2 separate regions of the Homo sapiens genome follow, and region 1 is linked to region 2. The links are contacts of gene promoters, found by promoter capture Hi-C in blood cells and fetal thymus (Javierre and others, 2016). All regions are on one chromosome and are shown on one strand. Each heading gives the region's core, a stretch centred on a gene start or on the middle of the fragment in contact. The rest is flanking DNA. Distances are from core to core; before and after follow the strand shown. Region 1 holds the start of SLX4 (SLX4 structure-specific endonuclease subunit). Region 2 overlaps ZNF213-AS1 (ZNF213 antisense RNA 1).

Region 1 (6,113 bases), core at 481-2,980, 480 kb after region 2:
ATCCCCAAATCTAGGAAAACTATCTCCTACACTGATCTAAGACCCCTGGCTGTTAAAGAGGCTCTTTCTGTAAATACTGCAACATAAGAGACAGAAAGAGACATTATATTCTCATGAACACTCAGGAGAGAAAAGGTCACTTTTACTTATCTTCTCAACCCAGCAAGGCTCTCCAAACCTGGATGACTGGAATGTCGCCTGTGTGCAAAGGCTGGGCCTCGTGAGCATGGTTGTTTACTTTGGCACACAGCTAAGTGGGGTTCAAAAATCAAAACTGAATGACCCAATGGCAGAAAGTTATTCCTTTCAAATACAATAATGCAATCTCCACTGTCCAAGGAATCTAATTAATCATTTTGTTTTCCAGAGCTGAAAATACTCCTACCTAGAATCTACTTTGTATGGCTGGCGCATTCTCTTCTGTGTCTTCCCCTTAGAGAAGTGTCCTCTAATCCTTTATGGACCGTCTCCATCCCCGTTAATCCCTATCATCGCCCACTGTTTTCACAATGGCATCTGTCATAGGTTATCATCATATGAAACAGGTAATATCTATCGAATGCTTACTGTGTGCCAAGCACTGTTCCAATTGCTTTCCAAGTCAAACTCGTTTAATCCTTACAAGAAGCCTATATGGTGGAATCTCTTGTCATCCTGTCTTTACGGCAAGGAAACACGCGCAAGCAGAATGAGGAACTGGCCTAAAGCCAGTTCAGGAACAGCTTTCACAGTGGCAGGGCTGGGATCAAACCCAGGAAGTGTGGTTCGAAACTATCCGCTCTTGTGTTTTTATTCATCGGCTTATTATCTGTCCCCCATTAAGCTCAACACTTCAGGAGGGTAGAGATCCATCTATTACTTTGCAACCTCTTTGGCTGATCTGGTGCCTGACTTGAAATAAGTGCTCCACAACTACTTGTTGAATTCATGAATTGCAAAGAGTTCGGTATAATGGGAGTAGAGAGAAAGGTGTAGGAGAAAACGCTGCGGGGAGAGGAAAGGATTGGCTCACAAGGGCCTGGAAGGTCAGGCTAGGCAAAGTGAATTTTATCCTGTTGGATGCGGGGAGCGGCTGGAACAAATTCCACCTCCACAACTGTGTTGATCTCCGCATCTCTGTTGATATGAACCTCACAACAGTCTATCTCCTCCTATAGGTGCCCAGTCAAGATTTACTGAATGACATAACGGATCCTGCAAGCCTGCAGGTTTCCAGAGGGAAGGGGACTTGTGCCTCCTTGCTTCGTACCTACCGCAGCCCACGGCTCACAGCAGGCGAGGGATGAATGAATGGATCGGTAAGGGGCGGACCCTCCCGCTTCCCCCAACCCGGCGACCTACGGAAAGGGGCTGAGGGGTTCCCCGTCTGGGAAAAGGGCTGCCAAAGACTCTAACGGCTCTAAAGTCAGACGGAGAACCCCGATCCCCGGACTGGCCCGGACGGAGACCACCGTGGGGATCCGGATCCGCCACCCTCCTCCCTCCAGGCGGGCCCCGGCCCCTCTCCACCCGAGTGCGGCTCCTGCCTCTCCGTCGGGGCTGCGGGCCTGCCGAGGCCACGGAGCCAGCGAGGGAGACGGGCGAGAAAGGCTCTTCTCCCTTAGGAAAGAGAGAACGGCCCGAAATGACAGGACCTCCGCCTCCCGGGTGCCGACTCCCAGCCCCACAGCCCGGCTCCTCCTACCTCCGGCGCCGCCGCGGCACCTTCTTAACGGAGACTCGCGCGCCTGCGCATGCGCCGCCCGCGCCCCCGCGGAGCATTGCCTGCGCGCAGGCGCAGAGCGGGCGCGCGCGGTGGTGCGGCAGCCTCGCTTCCGGTCTTCCTCTGCGGCGCCGGGCGCGGGCCCGCGGCGGCCAGCGCTTCCGGTCGGCAGGAGGCGGGGCGAGGCGGAAGCGGCGCTTGCTTCAGGTGGAGTCTGTTAGTTTTTGAGAAAGAGTTAGGGCGAGTTTAAGGCACTGTGGCAGCTGTGAGATAAAGTCTGGTTCCTCCCCAGCTGGCTCAGGAAATGTTCGCGGATACAACGGCGGCCCCCTCTGGGCATACCTGCCTGTGGAGCGGAGAGTGGACGGTGTGAGGGGGACCGGGAGAGGCACCAAATCTGGCCTGGGGGCCCGAGAAGCTTCCTCTCAGGTGGGGTGGCGTGAGAGTCGAGGCCTGGAGGTCGGGGAGGGTTAGCTACGTGAAGAGGGGATTCTGCCGCGCTTCAGGTGCCTGGAGGGGATGCCCGAGCTCTTCCGCAGGGCTAGGGTGAAGCCAGCCAGGGCCTGGGGGAAAGGTAGCAGAGGTTTGCCATGGCTTGGTATTTGAGGGACTTTACACATCGTATTAAGGGTTTGAGCTTCAACTTGGGGTCGTCGGGAGCCATTGAAGGTTTTTTGTTGTTTGTTTTTTGAGACGGGGTTTTGCTCTTGTTGCCCAGGCTGGGGTGCAGTGGCGCGATCTCGGCTCACTGCAACCTCTGTCTCCCGGGTTCGAGCGGTTCTTGTGCCTCACCTTCCCAAGTAGCTGGGATTACAGGCGCCAGTCACCACGCCCAGCTAATTTTTGTGTTTTTAGTAGAGACTAGGTTTCACTCTGTTGCCCAGGCTGGTCTCCAACTCCTGACCTCAGGTGATCCGCCCGCCTCGGCCTCCCAAAGTGGTGGGATTACAGGCGTGAGCCACCGCTCACGGCTTTTTTTTTTTTTTTTTTTAAGTAGAGACGGGCGGTGGGGGCGGGGGGGGGAGTCTCACTATGTTGCCCAGGCTGGTCTCGAGCCCTGGCCGCAAGAGATCCTCCCGCCTCGGCCTCCCAAAGCGCTGAGATTACAGGCGTGAGCCACCACGCCCGGCGTAAGATTTTGTTTTTAAAGGCCTAATTACAGTGAGAACAGATGAGGCAAGGACACCCATTAGGAGGCTATTACATAATCTAGATGAAAAGTGAGAGCGGCCCGAATTAGGAGGTGGAGCGAAAAGAATGGAGAAATATGGAGCATAGTCAAGACGCAGTTGTTAACGATTTGCCGGTTTCTGGCCTTAACATCTGAGAGTAGTGTGCCTCCAGTCACTGAAATAATGAACACAGGAGAGGTGTAAAGGAATCAGTTTGCAGGGCAGACAATATGTTTTTTAAAAGATACAGTATCATAAAATGCACACTAGAAGTGTACATTCAGTGGTTTCCAGTACGTTCACAGGATTTGCAGCCATCGTCGCTAATTCCAGAACGTTTTAAAACCCCAAATCGAACCTGCCGTACCCATTCGTAGTCACTCCGCAATTCCCCCGACCCCATCCCCTGGCAATCACTTATCGGCTTTCTGTCTCTGTGGTTTTGCGTATTCAGTACATTTTATGTAAATGGGATCATGTGATACTTGGCTTTTTCTGCTGGGCTTTTATTAAGCATGTTTTCAAGATTTCATCCATGTAGATGAATCAGTACTGCATGCCTTTTCATGGCTGCATAATCACGTGTTTGGATGGACCATGTTTTGTTTATCCATGTATCAGGTGATGGGCATATGGATGTTTTTACTTTTTGGCTGTTAGAAATAATGCTGCTATGAACATTCGTGTTCATAACACAAGTTTTTGTGTTCTAGGAGTGGAATTACTGGGTAAGACTACATTTGATTCTGAATGTTGAGCTTCAAAACCTTCCAAGAGGTTTTCCTTGATGAAGGATTTAGGAGGTGTTTACTTGCTCTCTGGCTTGGAAATCTAAGTTAGTTTGTAATATGGTTTCCAACTGGATAAAGAAGACAGAACAAGAATGATAAGCAGCCCAGAGGCAAGGGTAGGGCAGGGTGTCTTGGGACTTGAATTTATAGAGGAGACTGAGTGACGACATGGAGAGGCCAGTGCTGTTGAAATAATTTCTCTTTCCTTCCTTCCCTTCCTTGCTTCGTTTTCGACGGAGTTTGGCTCTTGTTGCCCAGGCTGGAGCGCAGTGGTGTGTGCAACCTCCACTTCCCTGGTTCAAGCGATTCTCCTGCCTCAGCCTCCGGAGTAGCTGGGATTACAGGCGCCCGCAACCGCGCCTGGCTAATTTTTTTTTTTTTTTTTTTTTTTGGACAAAATCTCGCTCTGTTGCCCAGGCTGGAATGCAGTGGTGTGATCTCGGCTCACTGCAAGCTCTGCTTCCCGGGTTCACGCCATTCTCCTGCCGCAGTCTCCCGAATACCTGGGACTACAGGCGCCCGCCACCACACCTGGCTAATTTTTTGTATTTTTAGTAGAGACGGGGTTTCACCATATTAGCCAGGATGGTCTCGATTTCCTGACCTCGTGATCTGCCCGCCTTGGCCTCCCAGAGTGCTGGGATTACAGGTGTGAGCCACCGCGCCCGGCGTAATTTTTTGTATTTCTAGTAGAGACGGGGTTTCACCATGTTGGCCAGGCTGGTCTCAAACTCCTGACATCAGGCGGGCGATCTTCCTGCCTGGACCTCCCAAAGGGCTGGGATTACTGGTGTGAGCCACCGCGCCTGGCCTGAAATAATTTACTTACATTTCTCAAGAAAAGGAGGCGTGCCACCACGTTCAGAGCCACAAGGGAGACATCAGCTTTTGGTTAGGAGGAAGAAATAGGAACAAGGAGAAAGTCTAGGCCAGAACCTTTATGGGGTTCCTCAGAAATAGCAAGTCAGGGCGGAGTAAACATTTTAGGATTGGATAATTTAAATAATTCCATCACGCTTTGCCTTTGGGTGGTCTCTAGTTGCTTGGTACCTGGCCATGGATGATTTAGGGCAGGAGAAATACTGGCTTGGTGTGTGAGAGTTAGATAAAGGGGGGAGGCTGACTTGCCTGTGAGAGGCATGCTCCCAAGTAAGTTGTTTACTGTCTTGAGGAATTAGACCTGGGAGAGGCAGTCTCCCTGCCAGCAAGATTTATTAAGATTTCAAAATATCATAGGATACAGAAAATTTTTTTAAACATCTAATAAACATGGACATGGCTGGGTTATGAAGGATAATTGTAATGGTAGAAATTACTGTTTTCCAGTCAGACTGAAAATGAAGTGCCTGTTTCCTATTTAGGATTTAAATCTCTTAGAGTCCTGGTGAAGAAAGTCTTTGCTACCTCTCTCCCCCAACCCCAAATCTGGCTATATTATTTATTTACATAAAATAAATTAGTTGAAGTGTGGTTTAGAAAAGAGAGTTTTCTTAAACCTGAGATTCTCAACTGAATCACCTGTGGAATTTTTTTTTTTTAATTGGAAAGGCTGGGACACTACTCTTAGGCCTACTGAATAAATCTTTCAACCTGTGTCTTTTGAAAGTTTCACAGATGATTCTGATGGTCTCAAGATTGAGAAGCACTGCATTTAACCAGCACCAACTGAACAAACACTGTAGGCTAAGTATAAGAGAGATGGCAAGAGCTGGGTCAGGGTGGTGCATGGGATTTCCAATTATACATAATTCCTCCCTTCAATGAACAAAGCCATCCATAACTGGGGCACCTGCTTCTTTGGGCTAAAGGTGAACAATGGCAGCCACCTTGTCCTGGACCCTATTGTGACTGTTACTCCAGCAGAAGCCCTGGGGTTCATGCTGTTAGTTAGAAGTCACCCAGTATGACTAAGTTGAGGGGCAGTGTTCAGAAACAGTGTTACTAGATGGATGTTATTTCAGTAGGAACAGTATTGTGTGTTCCCTGTCAGCATTTGAGGCGGAAACCCACTGCACTGTCAGAACAACCAGGGAGATGAAAGAAGATGTCAGATACTAAAAGGTGCAGACAGTCCTTGTGTTTGGTAAACCTTACAGGGTTTATCTGAAAGAGAAAATGGATGCAGAAGTACATGAAAAAACTGTGTTATTCCAAATAGATGTGCTGTTTTCCCAGTTCATAGGAGTCGGTAATTTTTGGGTTCAGGGCAAAAAGGCAAAGGTTGAAGATGCTGTGATGATCACGTCCTTACCCTCCTGGAATATTTCCTTTTTGAAAGCTTCTGGCATCTTCCACTGAGTTCATGTTTTAAACAGTTGGGAGGATGAATTGAAGGGCCCTTATCCCAGGTCTGTGGTTTGATTATAAATGGTAAAGCCATAACCTGTCCACCTCCCTCTCCTTTATCTTGACAGGGGTTGGGGAGACAGCAGATTGAACAAGGAAAGA
Region 2 (5,988 bases), core at 3,489-5,988:
TCAACTAACAAAGCCCTAGGCTAGTCATGGAGATGAACACAGATCTCACAGAGCAACCACAGAGCTCTTCAAGGATTCAGGTGATCCTGTCATTAATGCCTTTCTCAGAGACTTAGTGAAGCCAGTGTCTACTGGTAAAAGATAGCTGGGGATGGGGTGGGTACACAGGTCATGCATGATAAGGCCACTCAACATTTCCATCTCCCTAAGGAAAAGGAGCCTTTGGTTTCCTTCTTTCCTGTCATGCCACTTCAGCCATCTCAACCTTGTTAACTGAAGGCCACCAATGAGTCCAAATTTCAGCCAACCAATGGAGTAAACTGCTAAAAAGCCACCAACAGCCACACACGCTAACATTAAATTTGAAGTCTACTAAATGCACCTATATCATTGAATTTGATTTCTCATTTTGTGTGTGTGTGTGACAGAGTCTTGTTCTGTCACGCAGGCTGAAGTGCAGTGGCATGATCACAGTTCACTGCAGCCTTGACCTCTCAGGCTCAAGCGACCCTCCCACCTCAGCTTTCTGAGTAGCTGGGACTATAGGTGCTCACCACAACACCCCGCTAATTTTTGTATTTTATGTTTCAACTATGTTGCCCAAACTGATAACAAACTCCTGGGCTCAAGTGATGATCCTCCAGCCTCTGCCTCCTAAAGTGCTGGGACTACAGGCATGAGCTACTGCACCCGGTCTAATCTCATCTCTTTTTATATTCTGTCCACTTTGGTATGCTATCCTTAGAATCTACTCTTGCATCTATCCCCCAGGTTTCTGCTAGTTTATATCAGCAAAGTGAATTATTTTAGTGTATAAGCTATTTCCTCCTGGGTCATAACGTGTATCTTTCCCCTCTCTCTCTGTCTCTTGCACACGCTTGTGCAGCCTCTCTCTCCACACACACACATATATAGATTGTGTTGAGATTTGACCCTAGTTGTTATGAGTTTACTGGCAATGGAGCGCAATTGTGGTGGGTTTTCAGGAGAATGGACATCCCCTTTTAGGTCTTCTGCCCCTGGGAAGGTTATCCTAAGGTTTTCAAGCAGAGAAAGGCTATTCTATTCAGATACTGAGGGCAAACTACTTCTACTGGTAAAGGAGGCTCAGAGTGACCTAAGGAATCAAGACTGTCAATTTCATCTGGGTCCAAACATATATCCCCACTTTGAATTTCAGGATCACCTTCTGTTTTTTCGTTTTGTTTTGTTTTTTTGATAGAGTCTCGCTCTGTCGCCCAGTCTGGAAGTGCAGTGGCGCCATCTCGGCCCCCTGCAACCTCACCTCCCAGGTTCAAGCGATTCTCCTGCCTCAGCCTCCCGAGTAACTGGGATTACAGGACTGCACCACTGTGCCTGGCCAGGATCACCTTCTTTACCAATCAGCGCAGTAACCTTCACGTGAGATTTGTTGGGCCTGGGAATTTAGCTGTCATTATTATTCAGCGACTCTACAGTTAAGTTTTGTGTTTGATTTTCAGTGACAGTATTGTGGCTATAAGAGCTGCTTCTAAGCTATCACAGAAGTTCTCAGGTTCTCAGACCATGACTTGAACTGAGCTAAGGGACTTGGGCTTGTCATTTTCTCACTGTAAATGCTCAAGTGCACTAAAAATAATGTATCCCATACCATGGTTGTATAATCATCATTATACATCTGTGGACACCATAATGGCTGAGTGCAGCAGCTACTTGTTCCCACCAGGTACATGCTTTCATTGGCACTTCATCATCACCTGCAGGTGGCTGCTTGATTAATTGTGATATCGCTGCAAGCCGTGGATAACCAGCACCCTGTGATGGTTAATTTCATGTTAAACTATACTGGGCCAAGGCATGCCCAGACAGCTGCTTAAACATTCTTTCTGGGTGTGTCTGTGAGGGCTTCTCAAGAAGAGATTAACGTTTGAATTGGCTGAGTGAGTAAAGCAGACGGCCCTCACCACGGGTGGGCATCATCCATCCGTATGGAATTAAACAGAACAGCAAGGCAGAGGAAGGCTGAATTCTCTCTGTGCCTGAGTACTTGAGACCTGGGTACTGGGACATTGATCTCCTGGTCTTGTGCTCCTGATTCTCAGGCCTTGAGTCTTGAATTGGAATCTACACCATTGGCCTTTGGCTCTCAGGCCTTAAAATTACAAAACTGTTAGGAGGCGGAGGCAGGCGGATAGCTTGAGCCCAGGGGAGTTCGAGATCAGCCTAGGACATACAGGGAGAGGCCATCTCTATATAAAAATATATATATAGAACAAATTAGCTGGGTATGGTGGTGTCCACCTGTAGTCCCAGCTGTTCAGGAGGCTGAGATGGGAAGCTTGCTTGAGCTGGGGAAGTCAAGGCTGCAGTGAGCTGTGATTGTGCCACTGCAGTCCAGCCTGGGCAACAGAGGGAGACCCCATCTGAAAAAAAAATGCTGCACCACTGACCTTGGGTCTCCAGCTTGCAGATAGCAGATTGTGGGGCTTCTCGACTGCCATAATCATGTGAGGCAATACCTTAGTGTGTGTGTGTTTATATATATACATATACACACACATAAAAGCTCTCTCTCTCTCTCTCTATATATATATATATACACACACATACACATGTATATATAGATTCTGTTATTCTGTTTCTGGAGAACCCTAATACATATCCTATTTCTCATTGTCAAGGAGCTCAGTCTGCACTCAAGCCCAAATACCCAAATCCGTCCCCATATCCCTTCTTTGTGCATCTATCTCTTGAGACCACTCCTTGTACTAATTTTGTATCAAGCAAGGTCCAATCAGGAGAAGGGAAGCACACAGTAATTTGAACTGGGAAAATTTAATATATAGAATTAAGCTATAAAGGGCTTAGACTGGGCGCTCTGGCTAACGTCTGTAATCCCAGCACTTTGGGAGGCTGAGACAGGTGGATCACCTGAGGTCGAGAGTTTGAGACCAACCTGACCAACATGGAGAAACCCCGTCACTACTAAAAATACAAAATTAGCTGGGCGTGGTGGCACATGCCTGTAATCCCACCTACTTGTGAGGCTGAGGCAGGAGAATCACTTGAACTCAGGAGGCGGAGGTTGCAGTGAGCCACTGCACTGCCTGGGCAACAGAGCGAGACTCCGTCTCAAAAAAAAACAAAAAACAAAAAGGCATTTTCAAGAGGTTGGCTGGTAAGAAGTAAAGAGAACTCTGATTCTCTGGTCACAGCACATAGCAGCAGCCATACCTTCTGGCCTGAGTTCCAGCACTCAAGCAAGAGGTTTCCTGGTCCCTGGGCTTAGATCCAGACCTTGAAGAGGGCACAACGGCAGTTTCACTGAATGGCAGAGAAGTGGCTGTGGTACCACATGGGCAGAATTTGCTGGAAATCCATCCTCAAGGGTAGAAAAAGCTGCTCACAGGGAAGTGTCTCATGAGAAACGCGCTGCTACAGAACTACCTGAAGAGGGTGGCAGAGAAAGCTGCTAGGTGCCGCTGGTTGAGGTTCACTGAGGCGGCGGCACTGGAGACGCTTTGCAGGCTGCGGGCGCCTGCTGTCACAGGAGCTGCCCATGCTGCAGGAGCTGGGTGCTGGCGAAGCCCTGTGTGCTGCAGAAGCCAGACTCGGAAGAAGTCACCCGTCATGCCGGAGCCTAGAGAGAACACACCAGAAGCAGGAAGGGAAACTCGTCTCCTGCAATGTCTCTCCAGCGCCCTCTACTGACAAAGCTTAAGATCATGCCAGCTGGTAAAGGAAAAACTAAAGGGCCAGAACCATTTCACAGAGCAGGCAACGCAGGAGCTGGGACGTAATCAATAACTAGCACAGGTTTATATTATGATTCGTCTGTAGCGGCCTGCCAAAGGTTCCATATAACATCCCTGCGGCAGGAACTGACACTTCAGGCCCCACCGAATCAGCTAGATAACGGCCCACATTGCAGAGCAGCCAATCAAAACCGGAACATATTTAGATCATTTGGTAAACGGGACACTCAAGCAGTCCTATAGGGAGGCCTATGTGGGGAGGAACTGAGGTCTCCTGCCAAGAGCCACGTGAGTCATCCGCCTTCTAAGTGGGTCCTCCAGTGCCAGAGGACTGGGGTCCTCGTTGGTGTGGTGTCTGCAGTATCATGAGAGATCTTGAGCCAGAACTGCCTAGCTTAGCAGCTCGCATATTTCTTTTTTTTTTTTTTTTTTGAGACGGAGTCTTGCTGCTGCCCAGGCTGAAGTGCAGTGCCATGATCTCAGCTCACTATAACCTCCACCTCCCAGGTTCACTTTACTTTCTTCATTATTTATAGACTATATTTTCTTTTTTGTGAGACGGAGTATTGCTCTGTCATCCAGACTGGAGTGCAGTGGCGTGTTCTCAGCTCACTGCAACCTCCGCATCCTGGGTTCACGCCATTCTCCTGCCTCAGCCTGCCGAGTAGCTGGGACAAGGTGCCTGCCACCACGTCCGGCTTATTTTTTGTATTTTTAGTAGAGCTGGGGTTTCACCGTGTTAGCCAGGATGGTTACAGGCGTGAGCCACCGCACCTGGCCACTTTAGACTGTATTTTCTAGCGAGAAAAAACAGTGGGCCGGTCCCGATGGCTCATGCCTGTAATCTTAACACTTTAGGAGACCAAGGCGGGTAGATCACTTGAGGTCAGGAGTTTGAGACCAGCTTGGGCAACATGGCAAAACCTCGTCTCTACTAAAAATACAAAAATTAGCCGGGCATGGTGGCACACACCTGTAATCACAGCTACTTGGGAGGCTGAGGCAGCAGAATTGCCTGTAATCCCAGCACTTTGGGAGGCCAAGGCGGGTGGATCATGAGGTCAGGAGTTTCAGACCAGCCTAGCGAACATGGTGAAACCCCATCTCTACTAAAAATACAAAAAATTAGCCAGATGTGGTGGTGTGCTCCTGTAATCCCAGTTACTTGGGAGGCTGAGGCAGGAGAACTGCTTCAATGTGGGAGGTGGAGGTTGCAGTGAGCCAAGATGGCGCCACTGCACTCCAGCCTGGGCTACAGAGCAAGACTCGGTCTCAAAAAATAAATAAATAAATAAACAAATAACCGGGCGCGGTGGCTCACGCCTGTAATCCCAGCACTTTGGGAGGCTGAAGCGGGCAGATCATGAGGTCAGGAGAGCGAGGCCATCCTGGTTAACACAGTGAAATCTCTACTAAAAATATAAAAAAGAGGCCGAGGCAGGTGGATCACGAGGTCAGGAGATAGAGACCATGCTGGCTAACATGGTGAAACCCCGTCTCTACTAAAAATACAAAAAATTAGCCGGGCATGGTGGTGGGCTCCTGTAGTCCCAGCTACTCGGGAGGCTGAGGCAAGAGAATGGCATGAACTCGGGAGGCGGAGTTTGCAGTGAGCTGAGATCGCGCCACTGCACTCCAGCCTGGGCAACAGAGCAAGACTCCATTTCAAAAAAAAAAAAAAAAAAATTAGCCAGCCGTGGTGGCAGGTGCCTGTAGTCCCAGCTACTCAGGAGGCTGAGGCAGGAGAATGGCATGAACTCGGGAGGCAGAGCTTGCAGTGAACCGAGATCGCGCCACTGGACTCCAGCCTGGGCGACAGAGCAAGACTCCATCTAAAGTAAGAAAGAAAAAGAACACGTGAAAAATTATCAGAAGGAACAAGAAAGTGCAATCCGGTAGTCAATTTCAATATAATTTTATGCAAATTTGCCATATACCAGCAATGCTCAATAGAAAATACAGTTCATGTGCCACTTACCAATGTATGGCCTCTCAGCCCAAACACATCCTTTTCGTTCTGCTTTGTGATACTGAGCTGGATCACATCTAAGCTTTGGGTGAGATCCAGTGTGATACCCAGCTGGACCCTGTATACAGTTCCTTGCTAGCCAGCTTGATGTTGTTCTTCGCTAATACAGGGCGATGGATGAACACTGTCAGGTCAGAGCAGGAGGGAGGGGCTGTCTTCTCCACTGTGGCCAGCGGAGGGCAGGAGAGGTAACCAGCGGCCTTCAGTTCCACTGTCCTCACCTTG

What was found. Contacts are between HindIII fragments. The CHiCAGO score rates a contact against its expected background, and 5 or more counts as called.
Region 1: the fragment with the promoter of SLX4 here is called in contact with a fragment that was not itself captured in region 2 in 1 of 17 cell types (fetal thymus); the score reaches 5.5 in fetal thymus.

What each region holds. Positions count from the first base shown.
Region 1 is chr16:3,609,876-3,615,988 of GRCh38, forward strand. It overlaps SLX4 (SLX4 structure-specific endonuclease subunit), which reads right to left and starts at 1,731. Exons shown (of 15, transcript NM_032444.4): 1 at 1,685-1,731. It also overlaps a transcript of DNASE1 not described here. RefSeq lists a silencer at 1,589-1,938 and an enhancer at 1,979-2,048. The HindIII fragment of the contact is 2,900 bases long and covers 1-2,118 here.
Region 2 is chr16:3,126,035-3,132,022 of GRCh38, forward strand. It overlaps ZNF213-AS1 (ZNF213 antisense RNA 1), which reads right to left. Exons shown (of 6, transcript NR_110900.1): 3 at 5,985-5,988; 4 at 3,427-3,619; 5 at 3,214-3,276. Among named protein-coding and RNA genes, the nearest start is that of ZNF213-AS1, 5.9 kb to the right of the region's middle. RefSeq lists enhancers at 1,658-2,208, 3,346-3,565 and silencers at 3,405-3,662, 3,414-3,708. The HindIII fragment of the contact is 2,090 bases long and covers 3,694-5,783 here.